6 separate regions of the Homo sapiens genome follow, and all the other regions are linked to region 6. Evidence: promoter capture Hi-C in 16 types of primary human blood cells and fetal thymus (Javierre and others, 2016). All regions are on one chromosome and are shown on one strand. The core of a region is centred on a gene start or on the middle of the fragment in contact, and the rest is flanking DNA. Distances in the headings are between cores, read along the strand shown.

Evidence for each region. Contacts are between HindIII fragments. The CHiCAGO score rates a contact against its expected background, and 5 or more counts as called.
Region 1: a contact is called between a fragment that was not itself captured here and the fragment with the promoter of CRY1 in region 6, in 7 of 17 cell types (naive CD4 T cells, naive CD8 T cells, endothelial precursors and 4 more). The highest score is 9.5, in naive CD4 T cells.
Region 2: a fragment that was not itself captured here is called in contact with the fragment with the promoter of CRY1 in region 6 in 1 of 17 cell types (naive CD4 T cells); the score reaches 6.3 in naive CD4 T cells.
Region 3: a contact is called between a fragment that was not itself captured here and the fragment with the promoter of CRY1 in region 6, in 1 of 17 cell types (fetal thymus). The highest score is 5.9, in fetal thymus.
Region 4: a contact is called between a fragment that was not itself captured here and the fragment with the promoter of CRY1 in region 6, in 2 of 17 cell types (total CD4 T cells and total CD8 T cells). The highest score is 5.4, in total CD4 T cells.
Region 5: a contact is called between a fragment that was not itself captured here and the fragment with the promoter of CRY1 in region 6, in 1 of 17 cell types (total B cells). The highest score is 5.1, in total B cells.

Annotation. Positions count from the first base shown.
Region 1 is chr12:107,621,332-107,624,031 of GRCh38, reverse strand. The region is part of intron 11 of ABTB3 (ankyrin repeat and BTB domain containing 3); the gene reads right to left. Among named protein-coding and RNA genes, the nearest start is that of PWP1, 63 kb to the left of the region's middle. The HindIII fragment of the contact is 2,676 bases long and covers 60-2,700 here.
Region 2 is chr12:106,315,018-106,317,717 of GRCh38, reverse strand. The region is part of intron 3 of TCP11L2 (t-complex 11 like 2); the gene reads right to left. Among named protein-coding and RNA genes, the nearest start is that of TCP11L2, 14 kb to the right of the region's middle. The HindIII fragment of the contact is 668 bases long and covers 985-1,652 here.
Region 3 is chr12:106,292,188-106,294,887 of GRCh38, reverse strand. No RefSeq gene overlaps it. Among named protein-coding and RNA genes, the nearest start is that of TCP11L2, 9.2 kb to the left of the region's middle. The HindIII fragment of the contact is 685 bases long and covers 965-1,649 here.
Region 4 is chr12:107,678,117-107,680,835 of GRCh38, reverse strand. No RefSeq gene overlaps it. Among named protein-coding and RNA genes, the nearest start is that of PWP1, 6.3 kb to the left of the region's middle. The HindIII fragment of the contact is 2,723 bases long and covers 46-2,719 here.
Region 5 is chr12:106,405,458-106,408,157 of GRCh38, reverse strand. It overlaps POLR3B (RNA polymerase III subunit B), which reads right to left. Exons shown (of 28, transcript NM_018082.6): 11 at 2,182-2,301. Among named protein-coding and RNA genes, the nearest start is that of POLR3B, 49 kb to the right of the region's middle. The HindIII fragment of the contact is 991 bases long and covers 848-1,838 here.
Region 6 is chr12:107,092,132-107,094,831 of GRCh38, reverse strand. CRY1 (cryptochrome circadian regulator 1) reads left to right here and starts at 1,283. Exons shown (of 13, transcript NM_004075.5): 1 at 1,283-2,028. The coding sequence starts at 1,871. RefSeq lists silencers at 812-891, 1,222-1,451 and an enhancer at 992-1,141. The HindIII fragment of the contact is 9,786 bases long and covers 1-2,700 here.

The DNA of each region.
Region 1 (2,700 bases), core at 148-2,647, 530 kb before region 6:
CACCTGCAGTTCCCTGACATGGAATGCTTTTGCCCTAGATCTCTGCATGGCTGGAAGCTTTTCCTCACTTAGGTGGTTTTTCAAATGCCACTTTCTCAGGGAGAACTTCCTGACCGTTTCGTCTAAGTTAGACCTCATCAGCCCCACCCCCAGAGACCATACCATGGTCCCATTTCATTTTGTAAACACTGATCATGCTCTGACTCTGTTTCGTTTATTTATTTTCTTGCTTTTGGTCAGTAAGCTCCAGAAGGATAAAGAACATGTCTGTCCCATCACCACTGTAGTGCCTGGAACCAAGTGGGCACTCCTGATTATCTCTTGATTATGCCCAGGGGAATGATGTGTTAGAAAAATAAGCTAGAGGCCGGATGTGGTGGCTCATGCCTGTAATCCCAGCACTTTAGGAGGTCGAGGCAAGTAGATCACCTGAGGTCAGGAGTTCGAGACCAGCCTGGTCAAAATGGTAAAACTCTGTCTCTACCAAAAATATAAAAATTAGCCAGGCATGGCGGTGGGTGCCTGTAATCCCAGCTACTAGGGAGGCTGAGACATGAGAATCGCTTGAACCTGAGAGGCAGAGGTTACAGTAAGCTGAGATCACACCACTACACTCCAGCCTGGGCGACGGAGTGAGACTCCATCTCAAAAAAAAAAAAAAAAAAAAAAAAAAGGCCAGGCGTGGTGGCTCACACCTGTAATCCCAGCACTTTGAGAGGCTGAGGTGGGCAGATCACGAGGTCAAGAGATTGAGGCCATCCTGGCCAACACGGTGAAATCCTGCCTCTACTAAAAATACAAAAATTAGCAGGGCATGGTGGCGTGGGCCTATAGTCCCAGCTACTCAGGAGGCTGAGGCAGGAGAATTGCTTGAACCTGGGAGGCAGAGGTTGCAGTGAGCCGAGATTGCACCATTGCACTCCAGCCTGGGCAACAGAGCAAGACTCCATCTTAAAAAAAAAAAAAAAAAGACAAATAAGCTGGGAAGTCTTTTTAAACAGATGTATTCAAAAAAATGAATATATTGTTCTGCTCCTGGGGAAGTCTAGAGACACTGAATTCATTTGAAGTCCAAATTTAGAAACAAGAACATAGAAGCAGATGTGTGGTCGGATTTCAAGTATGGTTTGAGTGAGCACAAACCAATAATGGTGGGACGAATATGCCTCATTTTACAGGACAGCTGTTTCTATAAGTTGAACATAAAGTGGATTTATTTGCAAGAATCTATTCACTACTCTGATAAAACAAGATATTTGGCCAGGAGCAGTGGCTCACACCTGTAATCCCAGCACCTGGGGAGGCTGAGGTGGGAGGATTGCTTGAGGTCAGGAGTTCGAGATCACCCTGGCCAACATGGTGAAACCTTGTTTCTACTAAATATTAGCCAGGCATGGTGGTGCATGCCTGCAATCCCAGCCACTTGGGAGGCTGAGACACGAGAATGGCTTGAACCTGTGAGGCAGAGGTTGCAGTGAGCCAAGATCATGCTACTGCACTCCAGTCTGGGCGACAGAGCGAGACCTTGTTTTAAAAAAGAAAAAAAAAAGATACTTGTTTGGACAAACATTTGAACAGGAATCCTAAAGTGCAGGGAGAAGGAACAATGCTGGCCAGCTCTGTGATGATGGCTGCCCTATTGTCCGACAGGAGACTGTCTTCTCAACTTGGAATTTCTCTGTCATCATCTCCCTCCAGTTTTTCTTTTGACCACAAGAATATCCCCCATGCTTGGGGAATGGGTGACTTCACCCTGCAGGCTCGGGGAAATTATCTCCTTTTTTAACCTCCACCTACCCGCTCCCACCCCCGGCCAGTGGTCAGTGCATGTGATGTGTAAAGCCACATTTCACCAGTAGGGGATGCCATTGAACCCCCTGTAAAAGCAAAACACACTTCACTGGCTCCCTGCTCTTGAGACACGACCACGCCCAGCTATTTTTTTGTATTTCTTGTAGAGGTGGAGTTTCATCATGTTGCCCAGGCTAATCTCGAACTCCTGGGCTCAAGCAATCCTCCCACCTCGGCCTCCCAAAGTGCTGGGATTACAGGCATGAGCCACCATACCCAGTCAGCCTGATTTTCAAATGACTGACTATTAAACGATGGGAGCACCCACCACTTCTGTGAATGGAGGGTATTTTGTATGCTTCAGCCTGTAGATTCTTATAATCATGGGCTCAGGTTCTGAGAACTATTTCCTATCTAATGAGCTGTCCAAGTCAAACATTGTGGCTCCAGGCAAAACAAAGTGTGGTGTTAGATGTCGGGAGAGTGGCGGCCCTTTGGAGGATAGCAGTGGAGTAGGGTGTAAGGGGACCACTTGGGTGCTAGTCGTGTTCCATTTCTCAGTCTGGATGAGGATTGCACAGTTTGTCTATCTTATGAAAATCCATTTGGCATCGTAGTTATGAGCTGGGCACTTTTCTGTACGTATGTCATACCTCAAAGTAAAGTTTACTTTAAGAACGCACAGGTTAGTTTTACTTAATACACAGAATGTCTCAATAAATTCTGGAATTCCCAGTATAGGCTGAAGAAAAGTTAAAAACAACAAACAAACAAAACCTCAAAACGATAGAACCCAGACCCTGGGAATGTTTCTCACTAAGACAGTTTCTTAGGTGATTTCAGGTGAAAGTCTCTTTATTCAGCTACTTATTTTTAAGTCAGGTGGGGAGTTTGGTTTTGAAATGCTTC
Region 2 (2,700 bases), core at 69-2,568, 780 kb after region 6:
AAAACCACATGTCCCTCCACTGTAATTACTGACGAGGCTCTTTCCCCACAGAGCTATATACCTTTCCTAAGCAGAGGCCATAAGTCCTCCAGGTAGGTACTTACCATTGTGCCTAGTACAGTGCCTGATATATAGTGACTGCTTAACAAATGCATGCATGGTGAATGAATTCATAATTTGATAAGTATATCTCTTTTTTTCTGAGACAGAGTCTCACTCTGTCGCCCAGGCTGCAGTGCAGTGGCGCAGTCTCAGCTTACTGCGGCCTCCGCCTCCCAGGTTCAAGTGATTCTCATGCCTCAGCCTCCCAAGTAGCTGGGATTACAGGCATGCACTGCCACACCCAGCTAATTTTTGTACTTTTAGTAGAGACAGGGTTTCACCACGTCGGGCAGGCTGGTCTTAAACTCCTGACCTCAGGTGATCTGCTCACCTCAGCCTCCCAAAGTGCTGGGATTACAGGTGTGAGCCACTGCGCCCGGCTAAGACTTTATCTTTAAACAAAGGCAATGTGTCCTAACTCTGTACTTTGTTTCCCTTGCTCACATTTTCTAGCCATGGCAGAAACTGAAGGGAAGAGAGATTAATATTTTCCATAGTATCAAAGTATTTATGTGCAAGGCACTTTTATGCTAGTGAGTATGCATTTGAAGTGAGTAGTGTAGCCCCCTTCTTATTCTTGGGAAGTGTGAGGTTCAGGTATGGTCTCAGCAAAGCCAGGATTCAAACCCCACAGTCTGTCTGAGCCTAAAATGCCTTCACTATGGCCTGTACTCGCCACTTTTGAATTTAAAGTACAGATATGCCCTGTCTTTTGCTTTACCTCATAAAAAATACAAATTTTAACTTTAAAACAAGACTCCATCTCAAAAAATTCATTTGTATTAGTCAATAAATGTTTATTAAACATCCAATATGTGTAGGGCCCTGTTTTAGGAACTGGGAATACTACAGTGAAAAGAAAGTCTCTGACCTCAAAAAGCTTATATGTTAGCAGGGACAAAAAGGCAAAAAATACATTAAAAATGAATACGACAATTTCAGACCTATGAGAAAGAATAAGACAATGTGGTACACAGTTACAGAGAGGGTGCTGATTTCACTGGATGGTGGGAAAAAGCCTCTTTAAGTCAGTGACCTTTGTGTTCAGACTCAGAAGGGGAGAGCAAAGAGCCATGTGAAGGTCTGGGAAAAGAACATTCAAAAAGAAGAAGTCAGAGGAACAAAGTTTATGAGACAAGATCCAGATTGGTGAACCCTGAGGTAAGGAAGGAAGCCAGTGTGGCTGAAGCACAGCAAGCAGGAGGGACAGCACTGAGATGGGGTCAGGGGAGTGGGGCCATCCAGGCCATAGGAAAATGCTTAGATTTTTGGTCTCTGAGTAAGTGAAAACCATTGAAGAGTTTTTGGCAAAGAAATCATCTAATATAGCTCATTCTTTAAAAACATCATTAAGGCTACTGGATATGGAAGATGAACTGTTGGGGGCTAAGAAAGGAGACACGGCAACCAGTTAGGACTGAAAGGGTCCAGGCCACAGATGACGGTGGCCTAGCCTAGGGCTGTAGCAGTAGAGCTGGTATCAAGGGTCATGGCAAAATGCAAGTTACCAAAGGAAACCAAACAGATACACCCACGATACATGGCAAGCTTAAAAAATGTTAATATTAAATGAACAACATCCCCAAGAGGACTATGATCCACATTTTAAAGAAGAAGAGTTATTACATTGACTTCCTTTACTTTTCCTGCTTTAAAACAAATGAAAAAGTTCTGAATGGGATCAAATATTCTAAGTTGTCTTAACTGATAGAATGCCTCAGGATTTATAATTGGTACTGTAAGGTTGAAAATTCAATCCACGAACCAACTTTGCTTCTAAAGACGACTGATCTGTAATAATAGTCTCAAGCCTCTTCTCTTTGTCTCAGGAAACCTGTGAGCCACTGACTCCAGAAAGGCTGAAGTAGGATCCAAAGGGGTGGCTCCAACTAGAGGTCGGAGGGCGAGGTTAACCAGGAAGTGCCTCTTGCAGCTGTGATTCCTACCTCCAGACATTTCTGGATTGCCTGCTTTTAGCACTTTGACAGTTCAGGTGCATTTATTTATTCTTCAGAACCTGAGTATCAGTTTTCCATAAATCAATGTGCAAATATGTCTTGAGCCTGTACTGTATGTCAGGCACTATGCTAGACAATAGGGATACAGCAACAAACAATACAGACATAGCTCCTCCATAAATAGTGCATTTCAATCAAGTGGGGAAGATGGACATCAAACATAAAATTATAAGACCTCTTAACAAAAAGGAGGCAGCAAGGGCTACAGGTGTCTGTAGCAAAGGGATTAATTGTAGTCTAGGGGGTTCACCAATGTCAGAAAAAGCTTCCCTCAGGAAGTGACATATAAACTGAGTTCTAAAGATTATGGGTAATATGTATCCTAGGGGAATTTTTTTGTTTGTTTGTTTTTGTTTTTGTTTTTTGAGACGGAGTACTCTGTTGCGCAGGCTGTAGTGCAGTGGTGCGATCTCGGCTCACTGAAACCTCCACCTCCTGGGTTCACGCAATTCTCCTGCCTCAGCCTCCCAAGTAGCTGGGATTACACGCGCCCCACCACCATGGCCGGCTAATTTTTGTGTTTTTAGTAGAGGTGAGGTTTCACCACGTTGGCCGGGCTGGTCACAAACAGGAATTTTTT
Region 3 (2,700 bases), core at 58-2,557, 800 kb after region 6:
CAGAGTGCCAGCGACATTGTATGGATCAGTAAACTGTAACTACTATTATTATACTCTTGTTATTTTAATGATTTAATATTTACAGTTTCGACAGGTCCTGGGCAACTTAAAGGTCTGTGACATGCGATAATTTAAAATTCTGCCAAGGAGCAAATTTGAATCTAATAAGTTGGTGGTACAGGAGCCATTTATTTACCTCACAAATGAGCCTAACACATCACCCAGTATTTATATATCAATGTGAGGATTACTATTCTCCACTCATTAGGCCAGTAAGTCAGATCCATTCAGGAAAATAATATAACTTTATATTGTGTTAAGAACAATGATCCAAAAACTTGGATAATTATCCAAACGTTATCCAAAGACTTGGAAATAGGCAAAAGGGATTACTGGATGTCCTTTTAGTAGGGTGCTGTGTAGTGCAGTGTAGTAGCAGACTCGTACAAGGATTCATGCATTATCTAGGACTGTGTACCTTTGTTGGACTTACTACTCGTTATTGGTTCAGATATTCCAGAACTTTGTAAAGGCAGATGTTACTTTATCAAAAACTGATAACAAGGGCCCAGTGTAGTGGCTCACGCCTGTCATCCCAACACTTTGGGAGGCCAAGATGGACAGGTTGCTTGAGGCTAGGAGTTGGCGACCAGCCTGGGCGACATAGAGAGATCCTGTATCTACAAAAAAAATACAAAACTTAGCTGGGCAGGGTGGCATGTGGCTGTAGTCCCAGCTAATCAGGAAGCTAAAGTGGGAGAGTCCCTTGAGCCCAGGAGTTCGAGGCTACAGTGAGCTATCATCATGGCACCTCAGTTTAGCCTGGGTGACAGAGACCCTATGTCAAAAAACCGAAAACCAAAACCCAAAACAAAACACCAAAAAATTGATAACAATGCAAATTATTCTTGTCCATTTCTAATACAAGTAAAATCTTTTCTGTTCTATAGAAAAGATAAAAGCTTACTATTTATTACCTTATAAGACATTAACCAATTTTGTGTCTAACCTAGTAATCTTATTGTAAGATTTTTAAAAATGCATTTCTTGATGGGATATATAAACCCCTATTTCTCAAATATTCCTTAAACCAACTTTACCATTTTACTGGCTAACTCTTTAATTGATGAAATAAATATTTTTTTAAGCCCGTGTTTGTTCTGTTTCATATAAGTCATGTTTTCAATTTGTTGAAAATTATACCTTGACAAATAGAAGTCAATCCAAGGGGCCACATAGAAGGAGCATGTAATCCAGAACTGACGACCCCCAGGTAGGCTTCCTAGAGAAAGGAGTAGCCAAGCAGATACATGTACAAGAAGTTCTCAAGTGATCTCAACAAAACAGATTCAGGCCCCTAAATCAGTATTTAGGTCAAATTCATTGTTGAAAAATAAGGCTGATATGAGCTTAACTGATAAGGAAGAAAATTGGAACTACTTAGCTAAAAATCTGGATTGGTTTAAACTGCTTCAGTGTTGCTTTTATAATTTTCAAAAACGGCAGCTCACTTTGGAACCACAGGTACCTGCGAACTGTGGGAAATTCACCATTCTTGCCAAATGAGGTGAGGAACTCAATTCACTTTCTAAATCTACATAGATGGTTCTGCGCCATTTCTTCAGGAGTCCAAAGCTGAACCATAAGCTTGATGTAGAGGGCATTGCAATGAGTGGCTTTCAGCCCACAGGTGGACTTTGAATTTGAATGCCACAAGCCCACCCCTCTTATATGTAGCCTACTTCATTCATTTACATGGTTCACCTAGCTCTTTAAGCATTTTTGCCATCTCCATGAAGAAAAGTAGGGCCCCAAGCATTGTTTTCACCCATGAAATCTGCTATGCATGACTAGATGCAAAAAAGCAGACTTCAGGAAATCTTTTAAATGTACAGCATGTATCACACATATCCTGTAATTATTGGAGGACATGAAAGTCACTCACTTCAGACTGTTCCTTGGGCACAAGGAATGTCTTCTACTCATGAATACAAGCAATTTAACTGTCTGAAGGCTGAACTCAGAGGCTCAAATTAATTGCCTGACTTTGGACTAACAAGGGTTTCAGGGTTTTTTTTTTTTCCTTTTAGCAGGAGGGGTTGTGCAAAAATTAAACTTCTCCTGAGCACCTAAAGTCTCCAGATGCTGGGCAGGTAGTGTTTACCAACACTCCCCTCAATAGCTGCCTCTTATTCTCAGACTACCTGATGGCTGAGACCACGATGTCTCTTTTGGGCAAAGTCGTTCTCATACTTGCTCCATAAAAGGGGAAAATACAGGTATGGGAGTTCCTCTTCTGGAGTACAGATCTGAGGCACATGCAGCTATGCCCTAACCCAAATACACCTCTTGGTCATGGGTGACGAGAATAGGAGATACTTCTGCCTGTGCATTGGAGCCTGCAGTGAGCAATGCTTGCTCGTGTTTGCCCCAAAACCTTTTTCAGACAATAACTCTTTATATCCATCTTTGTTTCTTTATTTTTTATTTATTTATTTTTTTAATTTGAGACGGAGTCTTGCTCTGTTGTGCCCAGGCTAGAGTGCAGTGGCACGATCTCGGCTCACTGCAACCTCCACTTCCCGGGTTCAAGCAATTCTCCTGCCTCAGCCTCCAGAGTAGCTGCGATTACAGGTGCCCACAACCACACCTGGCTAATTTTTTGTATTTTTAGTACAGATGGGGTTTCACTATATTGGC
Region 4 (2,719 bases), core at 158-2,657, 590 kb before region 6:
AGAAATTTCCACTCTGGAGCTTTTAAGCACATAGTTAGATAAGCTTGCCCTGTAGAGAGTATCTGGTGAAGGGAAGGTAAAACGTTATAATGGCATTTCTAAAGAGCTAAGTAGGAAGTGGGGAACAGGGGAAAAGGAGAAAAGAGAAAAGAATAATGAAATTTAAAAAATAACTCATTCTCTTAAAAAATGGGGGTGCCTGGTTACATTTCTGTCATCCAAGTTGGAGTGCAGTGGCATGATCATAACTCATTGCAGCCTCGAACTTAACCATTTTTAAGAGTATAGTTTAGTGGTAGTAAGTACTAAATTGCTGAGTTTTGAGGTCATCTTTTAATGCAGCAATAATAAAGCAGGTGAGAAATGTGCTGTATTTAGAATAGAGCGCATGAACTGATTTCTTAGCAGAGGCTGATGTATTAACCCCTGGCTAGGCTCACGTGGGCTCACCTTGTATACGGGAATGGGCTTAGGTTTGAGTATTTGACTCTAGGTCTTTTGCCCCCGTGGGTTGCCTTCTCATGAGCCAGCTTCTGCTCCATGATGGCCCAGTCCCTGTCAGGTTTGCTGTCACAACCAGCATGGTGCCTGGTGCAGGGTGGGCTCTTGATAAATCATAGTTGTTAAATGAGTGAATAAGTTAAATAACAGAAGGTAAGCTAGGACTCCAGTTATTTTGGGCTTGCTAAACTCAGCCTCTTTTACAGGACTTATTTCCGACATTCTGCCACTTCAGCCCAAGCTGTGAATTCCCTTTAAAAATGAAAATCCCATGGCAGCAGGTATGATTAATTCCTTATAATGAGAATTGAAAGAGATTGAGCTTAAGTAGCTCTGTTTCTAAGCCTGATTCTTAGGAACTGATGAACATATTTAAGTCAGAAAAGTCTCTTTGCCAGAGGCCAGAATAAATGTCGTTGGTGGCACGTTGGCTATTCTTAGTTAAGGGTCCCAGAGGATCGAATCCTGGGCCATGCCAGGCTCTTGTTATACCCTATAGCTCAGTGTCATCTGTACTGAGGCTCATAAACATTTTTTTCTAAATGGGCTTGAGTGCTGGGAAGGAAATGAAGCCTATGGTACCCTCCTCCCCCATTGCACGAGGCTCTGTTTCTTGCTCCTCCTCTAGCTGACCCTACAATATTAGCTGATAAGGAGTGGAAGGAATGATAGCTACCACTTACCAAGTGCTAGAGACTTATACCATGAATAGATTTGACAGTGACAAAATCAGGTGTACAAAAATGAAACTTGATTTTTCTAGAACTGAATTGGCATTTTCACAAGGACGAGAGCCGTGAGAGTCTTGTTACCACAGTATTGCCAACACCTGGCAGAGTGCCTGGCACAGCAAATGTCACTAAATATTCGTTGAATAAATGAATAATATTAGAGTTCTAAACTGAAGTTCAAATACATTAGGAAGGCTAGGCGTGGTGGCTCAAGCCTGTAATCCTGGCACTTTGGGAGGCCGAGGTGGGTAGATCACCTGAGGTCAAGAGTTTGAGACCAGGCTGGCCAGTGAAACCTTGTCTCTACTAAAAATACAAAAATTAACTGTGTGTGGTGGTATGCACTTGTAGTCCCAGCTACTTGGGAAGCTGAGGCAGGAGAATCACTTGAACCTGGAAGGCGGAGGTTGCAGTGAGCAGAGATCGATTGTGCCACTGCACTCCAGCCTGGGTGACAGAGCAAGACTCTGTCTCAAAAAAAAAAAAAAAAAAATCAGGAAACTTGCCCAGCGTCATAGAGTTAGCAATGGCAATATACTAACCCGACTCCTGAGATAGGATCCTGTCTGTCATGTGACACAAGTTTTCTGGTAGAGTTGTTCATCAATTCATTCATTCATTCGTTGGTCTGTCAGGACTCTATTGAATGCAATTGACAGCTAACCGACTCCATTTGCCTTGGGCAAGAAAGAGAATGTATATGCTTAGTAGCTCAAGAACCTACTGACATAAATAGCTTCAGACATAGCTGGATCTAGGGGCTGAAACCACTGTCATCAGGATTGGACCTCTCTTCTATATTTAGTTTCTGTCTTACAATCTGTTCACTTAACATTAAGCCATCAGGAGCTTCAGGCTTGATGCATCTTTACTACTTGCAACCTCGGCAGAAAAAGCACTTGCATTTCTCTCTACTTCTCTCTCATTTGCCTCTTCAGTTCTGGAATGATCACCAGTCACTGTGGTCAGGAGAAGGTGATGCTCTGCTCAGCAAAGCCTGAGCCTCATGCCCAGCCCTGGAGCCAGAGAGAGAATTAGCTGTACAGGGAACACAGAGTTGGCAGCAAGAATTCTCTGGAGGAAACTTGGGGTGCTGCTGTGAGGAGGCAAGAACTGTCACCCATGACATGCAACAATTGTTTTCTTTGCCATCTTTATGCAGGACAGTTTGGGAGACAGGGAGCTACAAAAATGAACATGACACAGCCCTTCCCTCTGAGGGCTCTGTATTCTAATATAGGATCAGAGGTTTATGGTCAAGGGAAAATTAAATAAGACATGCAAGCAAATGTGGTTGTGACAGCCTGATTGGTGACTGCTTCATCCTATTCACCGTCAAGTTGCTGGGTGACAGCTGAGGATTCTGACCATCTACCCTTTACCAGCAACTGCATTCCCTCAGTCCCCTCCTCCTTGATGCCACCACTATCACCACCTGTCAGAAAAACTCCTTTCCACAGACTTGGGTAGTTTTCTGCCCCCTCTAG
Region 5 (2,700 bases), core at 94-2,593, 690 kb after region 6:
TTAAACAACCAATTTTAAGCTAAGCTTCATCCTATGCAATAATACCATAAAATCACATATATCACAAAAATGGATTTGATGTGCTAGTTGTATTCCTTCTAATAAGTATGTAATTACTTACATAAAAAATGACCCTGTATCACTGAAAATCATCCTTTATATCACATTTAGGTAAATACTGTCCAAAACAATTCTGGAAAACAAAGTTCTTTTCCCTGAACCATCTATTCTGACTTTATTCCTCACTGGATTATGTATAACCAAACTTTTAAAATGGTAATTTAGGTTCCATGCAACCACAGAAAAGCACAAATGATTTTTTTTTTTTGAGTCGGAGTTTTGCTCTTGTTGCCCAGGCTGGAGTGCAATGGTGTGATCTTGGCTCACTGCTACCTCCGCCTCCCAGTTTCAAGCGATTCTCCTGCCTCAGCCTCCCAAGTAGCTGGGATTACAGGCATGCACCACCACACCTGGCTAATTTTGTGTTTTTAGTAGAGATGGGGTTTCTCCATATTGGTCAGGCTGGTCTCAAACTCCTGACCTCAGGTGATCTGCCCGCCTCAGCCTCCCAAAGTGCTGGAATTACAGGTGTGAGCCACTGTGCCTGGCCTATCTTTATCAGTCTAACTAAACAAATGTTAATATCGGCAGGACTCTATCAACTAAAGCTCTTTAATTAACCCAACATTCTTCTCAGTTATAGTGTGAAGGTAAGTGTAGCTCCTGAGAACTACATGGGGAGCTGTGGAAAATACAGAGCTTTACGTATATTATATCTCCGAATCATCACAAGAACCCTGCAAGAAAGTGGAATTACTTTTATTAAAAAGATGAGAAAACTGAAGCTTAGAAAAGTTCAGATTTGCCCAAAGTTCATCAGTTAGGATGTAAGAAACCAGGATTTGAACAATTACGTCTCAGGCTCAAAAGCCTTTGTTGTTTCTACTATCCATTTTTGCTATTTTAAGTTTCAGACTCTTCCAATCATCCAAAAGAGCTTAAAATTCAGTTGAGACCCAGCTTTAACATTCAGAATTTTCTAATTATTTGGATTAAATCAAGGACATGCACAAATGGTAGCCAAGGGGCAGAATGAGAGACCTGTATTATTTGGATTGAAGGGTGTTTTAATACAGGAAAATCGGATCTGGATGCATTCAGGTGGTTACTCTCGACTTCCACAGATCCCGTGACCTTCCATTATTTTACAGTCAGCCCCTGAAGGTAGTGTTTGCAACCCTTGAAAAAGATTATTCACGGATGGAACACATGATAACTCACTACAAACCAGACTATTTAGTTAACAAGATAGTCTAACAAATAATAATTCCATAACTTAGTAAGAGTAGCATATACATTAAATGGGAAGAAAATTGAGGGCTGCCTCTTGCCAACACCCCACATGCCAATATGGTTGATCTCTGTTTAATAATAAATTAATAAAAAATAAATATTACATACTAGTTCAAGGCCAGAAGATAGGTTCTAACCCTTACTCTTACCACTAACCAGCTGGGTGACAACGCAAATCATCTAGCATGTTTGGATCAGAGAATCTTCACAATAAGTGAAGGAGGCTGGATAATGTGAACTTTAAATTCAAGGTCTAGAAGATGAACTCATCCAGTAAACATTTTTAAAACTATCTGCTGTGGTGATGGTTGTACAATAATGTGAATGTACTTAAGTCCAGAAAATTGTACACTTAAAACAGTAAACTTTATGTTACGCATATTTTACCATTAAGCATATTTTACTATACAATAAGCATAAGCATATTTTACATAAGCAATTTTACCATACAATAAAAAATATGTACGGGCAAGGCACTGTAAGCTTATTTTAATTTATTTATAAAACATGTAAGACACCATCTCTGTCCTTCAAAACCATGAAATCTAGTAGCAGTACTAATGTATGTATGAATATAAAATAACAATAATTTAAGACTGAAAGAATAACCACAAGAGAATAAACATGATGATGGCGATACAGCTAACATTCTCCGAGTATAAACAAACTGCTGATAATGGAAGGTTATTTCTGATGGGGCAGTACAGTCCTCTTTAGAATTTTCTCTTGAGGAATTGGACTTTAAATAAGGTAAACTCTTATCACAGTTCTCTAACAGGAATTCACAGACCCCACAGTCCTTATTCACAATAACGAAGTGTTACTCACTGGGACATGGGTCAGAATGGTGGAAGCCAGGAGCTCTCTTGCTTCTTCTATTTTGGTTTTCTTTGGTCCACCTCCCCACATCCTTTGCCTTCTTACTTTGTTCCCTATATATTTTAATGCCTATAAAAAACAGATTACAATAATGTTTGAATGACATCACTGGAGGTAGTTTAGCAAGCACCTAACCACATGTACAGTATGAGCGAAAGAGATAAAGACCCTGGTTATAGAGAAAGCTGTACTGGGTCTAGTTGAAAATCAACGTTTATCATAAATCAATGACAAAAAGCATAGCATACTGCCTAACACACTGGTTCCCTTTTTTCTCTTACTAAAAAAAATGATACATTGTCATTGTAGGAAATTTAGAAAATACAGACACAAGTAAAATATATTTGTGTGTGTGTGTGTGTGTGTGTGTGTGTGTGTGTGTGTGTAGACATATAGCAGCCATCAGTCCTTCACCCAGAGAAAACCACAGGTAAATTTTATAGTAGTACTTTTTTCCTCTCAAAAATG
Region 6 (2,700 bases), core at 34-2,533:
AACTAATTTTCACGGTAGTGTGAAAAGTGATGTAACAGAAACATACTTGGAGAACCCAGGGAGGTCCTAAATTTGCCCTAGGGATCAGGAATACTTTCAGAAATTAGTTATTATTTCATCTGAGTCTAAAGGGATGCGTAGAAATATCCTAGGTAGCTCAAAGGTGGTAATATTGAGTACTGGATTCCAAAGAAGAGTATTTTATAGAGGAAAAAACAGCAAAGGTTAAGAGACAAATTGTAAACCCCAGGAGGGGTGGGGTTTTAGTCTGTTTTATTAAGTATCTCCTGTATCTCTAGTGCTTTGAACAGTGCCTAGTTCATTCAAAAAGTAATCATTGAATGAATTTAAGGGCATCATATATCTAAGGGATGCCATGGCCTGCAGTTCACTGTCGCTGGAAAAGTAGACAAACGTCCAGTTTCAAAGAGACCGGTAAACTACATTAAATGTAAGAGACGAGGGGTGAAAGGTTGATGATATATATCGCTAGTATTAAAAAAATTCCAGGAAGTCCAGGAATGCCTGGCATCCGTCCTGCCAATTACCCTTTTCCCCAGAGTATGTACAAGGGGGAGGAGGCACCCAAGGGCCAGGAGAGTGGAGGGGCACAGCTCCACAATCTCCAAAGTAGGGTTCTCTGGCCAAAGCAGGATTGAAGCACATGGTTTGGACTTGAAATGTACGTGGAGCCTCCCACTCTCCTCCTTCCACTCCATCCTCCCCTCACTCTCCGCCCGACTCCACCACTGGCTCCTGAAGGAAACCGGACAATTTCCAGGCCCTCCCCAAATCCCACGGGAGGAATCGCCGAGCGCGCTCCTGCCCGCCGGCCCCGCCCCCTTACCCTCTGGAACGCAGCGAGAGCGCACGCGCGCCTAACGGAGCAGCGCGCGCGCCCGCAAGCTCCCCGCATCCCCGTGCTCATCCGGGTCTCAGCGAGCCTCGGCCAATGGTGGCCGCTCATGGCCCTTGGGGGCGGGGCTAAGCCTTCCCTCACAAGGGGCCTGTGGTCAACGCGATTTGCTTCCAAGGGACGGCCACCAGTCGGCACAGGAAAGGGGCAGAGGCAGTGAGTTCAGCGTGTGGACGAGGGTCAACAAGTTTGGGATCAAGCGGCTGCCGCTCCTCCAAAAGCGACCGAAGCGCGAGCAGATTACCCCTCCGAGCCAGTGTAGTAAACACACTTCAGAAACGTGAGGTGCCGGTGGTCACGAGGGGAGCGCGCCCTCCAATGAGGAGCCGGGGGCGGGGCCGAGGCCGCTGACGCGGCGGCGGCGGCAGAGTCACCCGGGCAGCCTCGGGACCGGTCACCGGCCGGCAACCGTCCAGCGGCCTCGACCACCGCCTCTAGCCTCCGTTCCCGGTCCTTTCTCCCGGGCCGAGAGACAGCGTCGCCGACAGGGGCTCATTCCCCTCCGGTTCTCCTCGGTGACTCACCTCGGGCGGGCCGTTTTGTCTTTAGGGGCCGCCTTGGTGGGGCGAGGTTTCCGTGACGAATCTCCTGGGGCCGTCCGTGCCGGCTCGGGCCGTCGTGGCGGCTCGAGCTCCTGGAACTTGCTCAGGCTCCGGAGGTCCGAGGCCCTCGAAGTTATGCGTCGCCTCCAGGCGGTTGCGGCGGGCGCGGGCTCCTAAAGGGCGTCACACCCGGACTCCGCCGACTAGGCAACCTCCATTCATCTTTCCACTGCGCCTCCGGCGCCCCCGCCTTCTCCGGTCCCCTCCTCGGAGTCATTTTTTCCTGTTCCCCCTCTGCCGCCCTTTCCTCACGCCCCGGGTGAGGCAATTCTCTTGGAAGCGAAGGTGTCGGCTATGAGCCGGAGCCTCCTTCCTTGAATTTCTCCGTGGAGGACCCGCCGCGCCCCCCGGCATGGGGGTGAACGCCGTGCACTGGTTCCGAAAGGGGCTCCGGCTCCACGACAACCCCGCCCTGAAGGAGTGCATTCAGGGCGCCGACACCATCCGCTGCGTCTACATCCTGGACCCCTGGTTCGCCGGCTCCTCCAATGTGGGCATCAACAGGTGGCGGTGAGTCACAAGCCCGTGGGAAATGGATTTGGGTGTTTAATGAGTCTGATGTTAATGAATTCCATGCGATCCGCCAAATCTGTGAATTTAGACGTGGGACTGTCTTGCTTATACCGCTTACGAATTTTAGGTGCCCTAAGTATTAAATAGAATTGACTTAATACTTCTCTGGCCAAAGAGTACTGACGACCTGAAACACTCGGTCTTCATCAGTGAGTTATGTGTCTTTCTGTGCTAACTGGAGCTCCTCCCCTGAATTTGTGGAGAATTCTTAGTGCTGGAGTTAAAGAAACACCTTTCCTGTCCTTAGTGGCCATTGTATATGGATTCCCTTGGCCTTTTTGTGGCATTCGGAAGGATTGTGATGTTTCCTGTTTACGTTTGTGTCTAGGTAACTCATAGTATGGAGAAAAATCATTCATTCAGTACAGCAGGCTCCAGATCCAGTGTTCTTCCACCTTGAGGTTACTGTGGGAAAAGCAAGGGAAACAGCATTATCTGGTTTCTCTGCTCGGTTCTTTTTCTCAACTCCTCCTTGTGGTTGCCGAGACAAAGCACAGTTTTTCTTTCTAGGCAAGTTGTAGTCCTTCTAGGGATCAGAGCACTGAAAGAAATCTTAGAGATGCTTTATGATCTTTTCCTGAAACACCAGGCTACATGATTGTTAGGCCC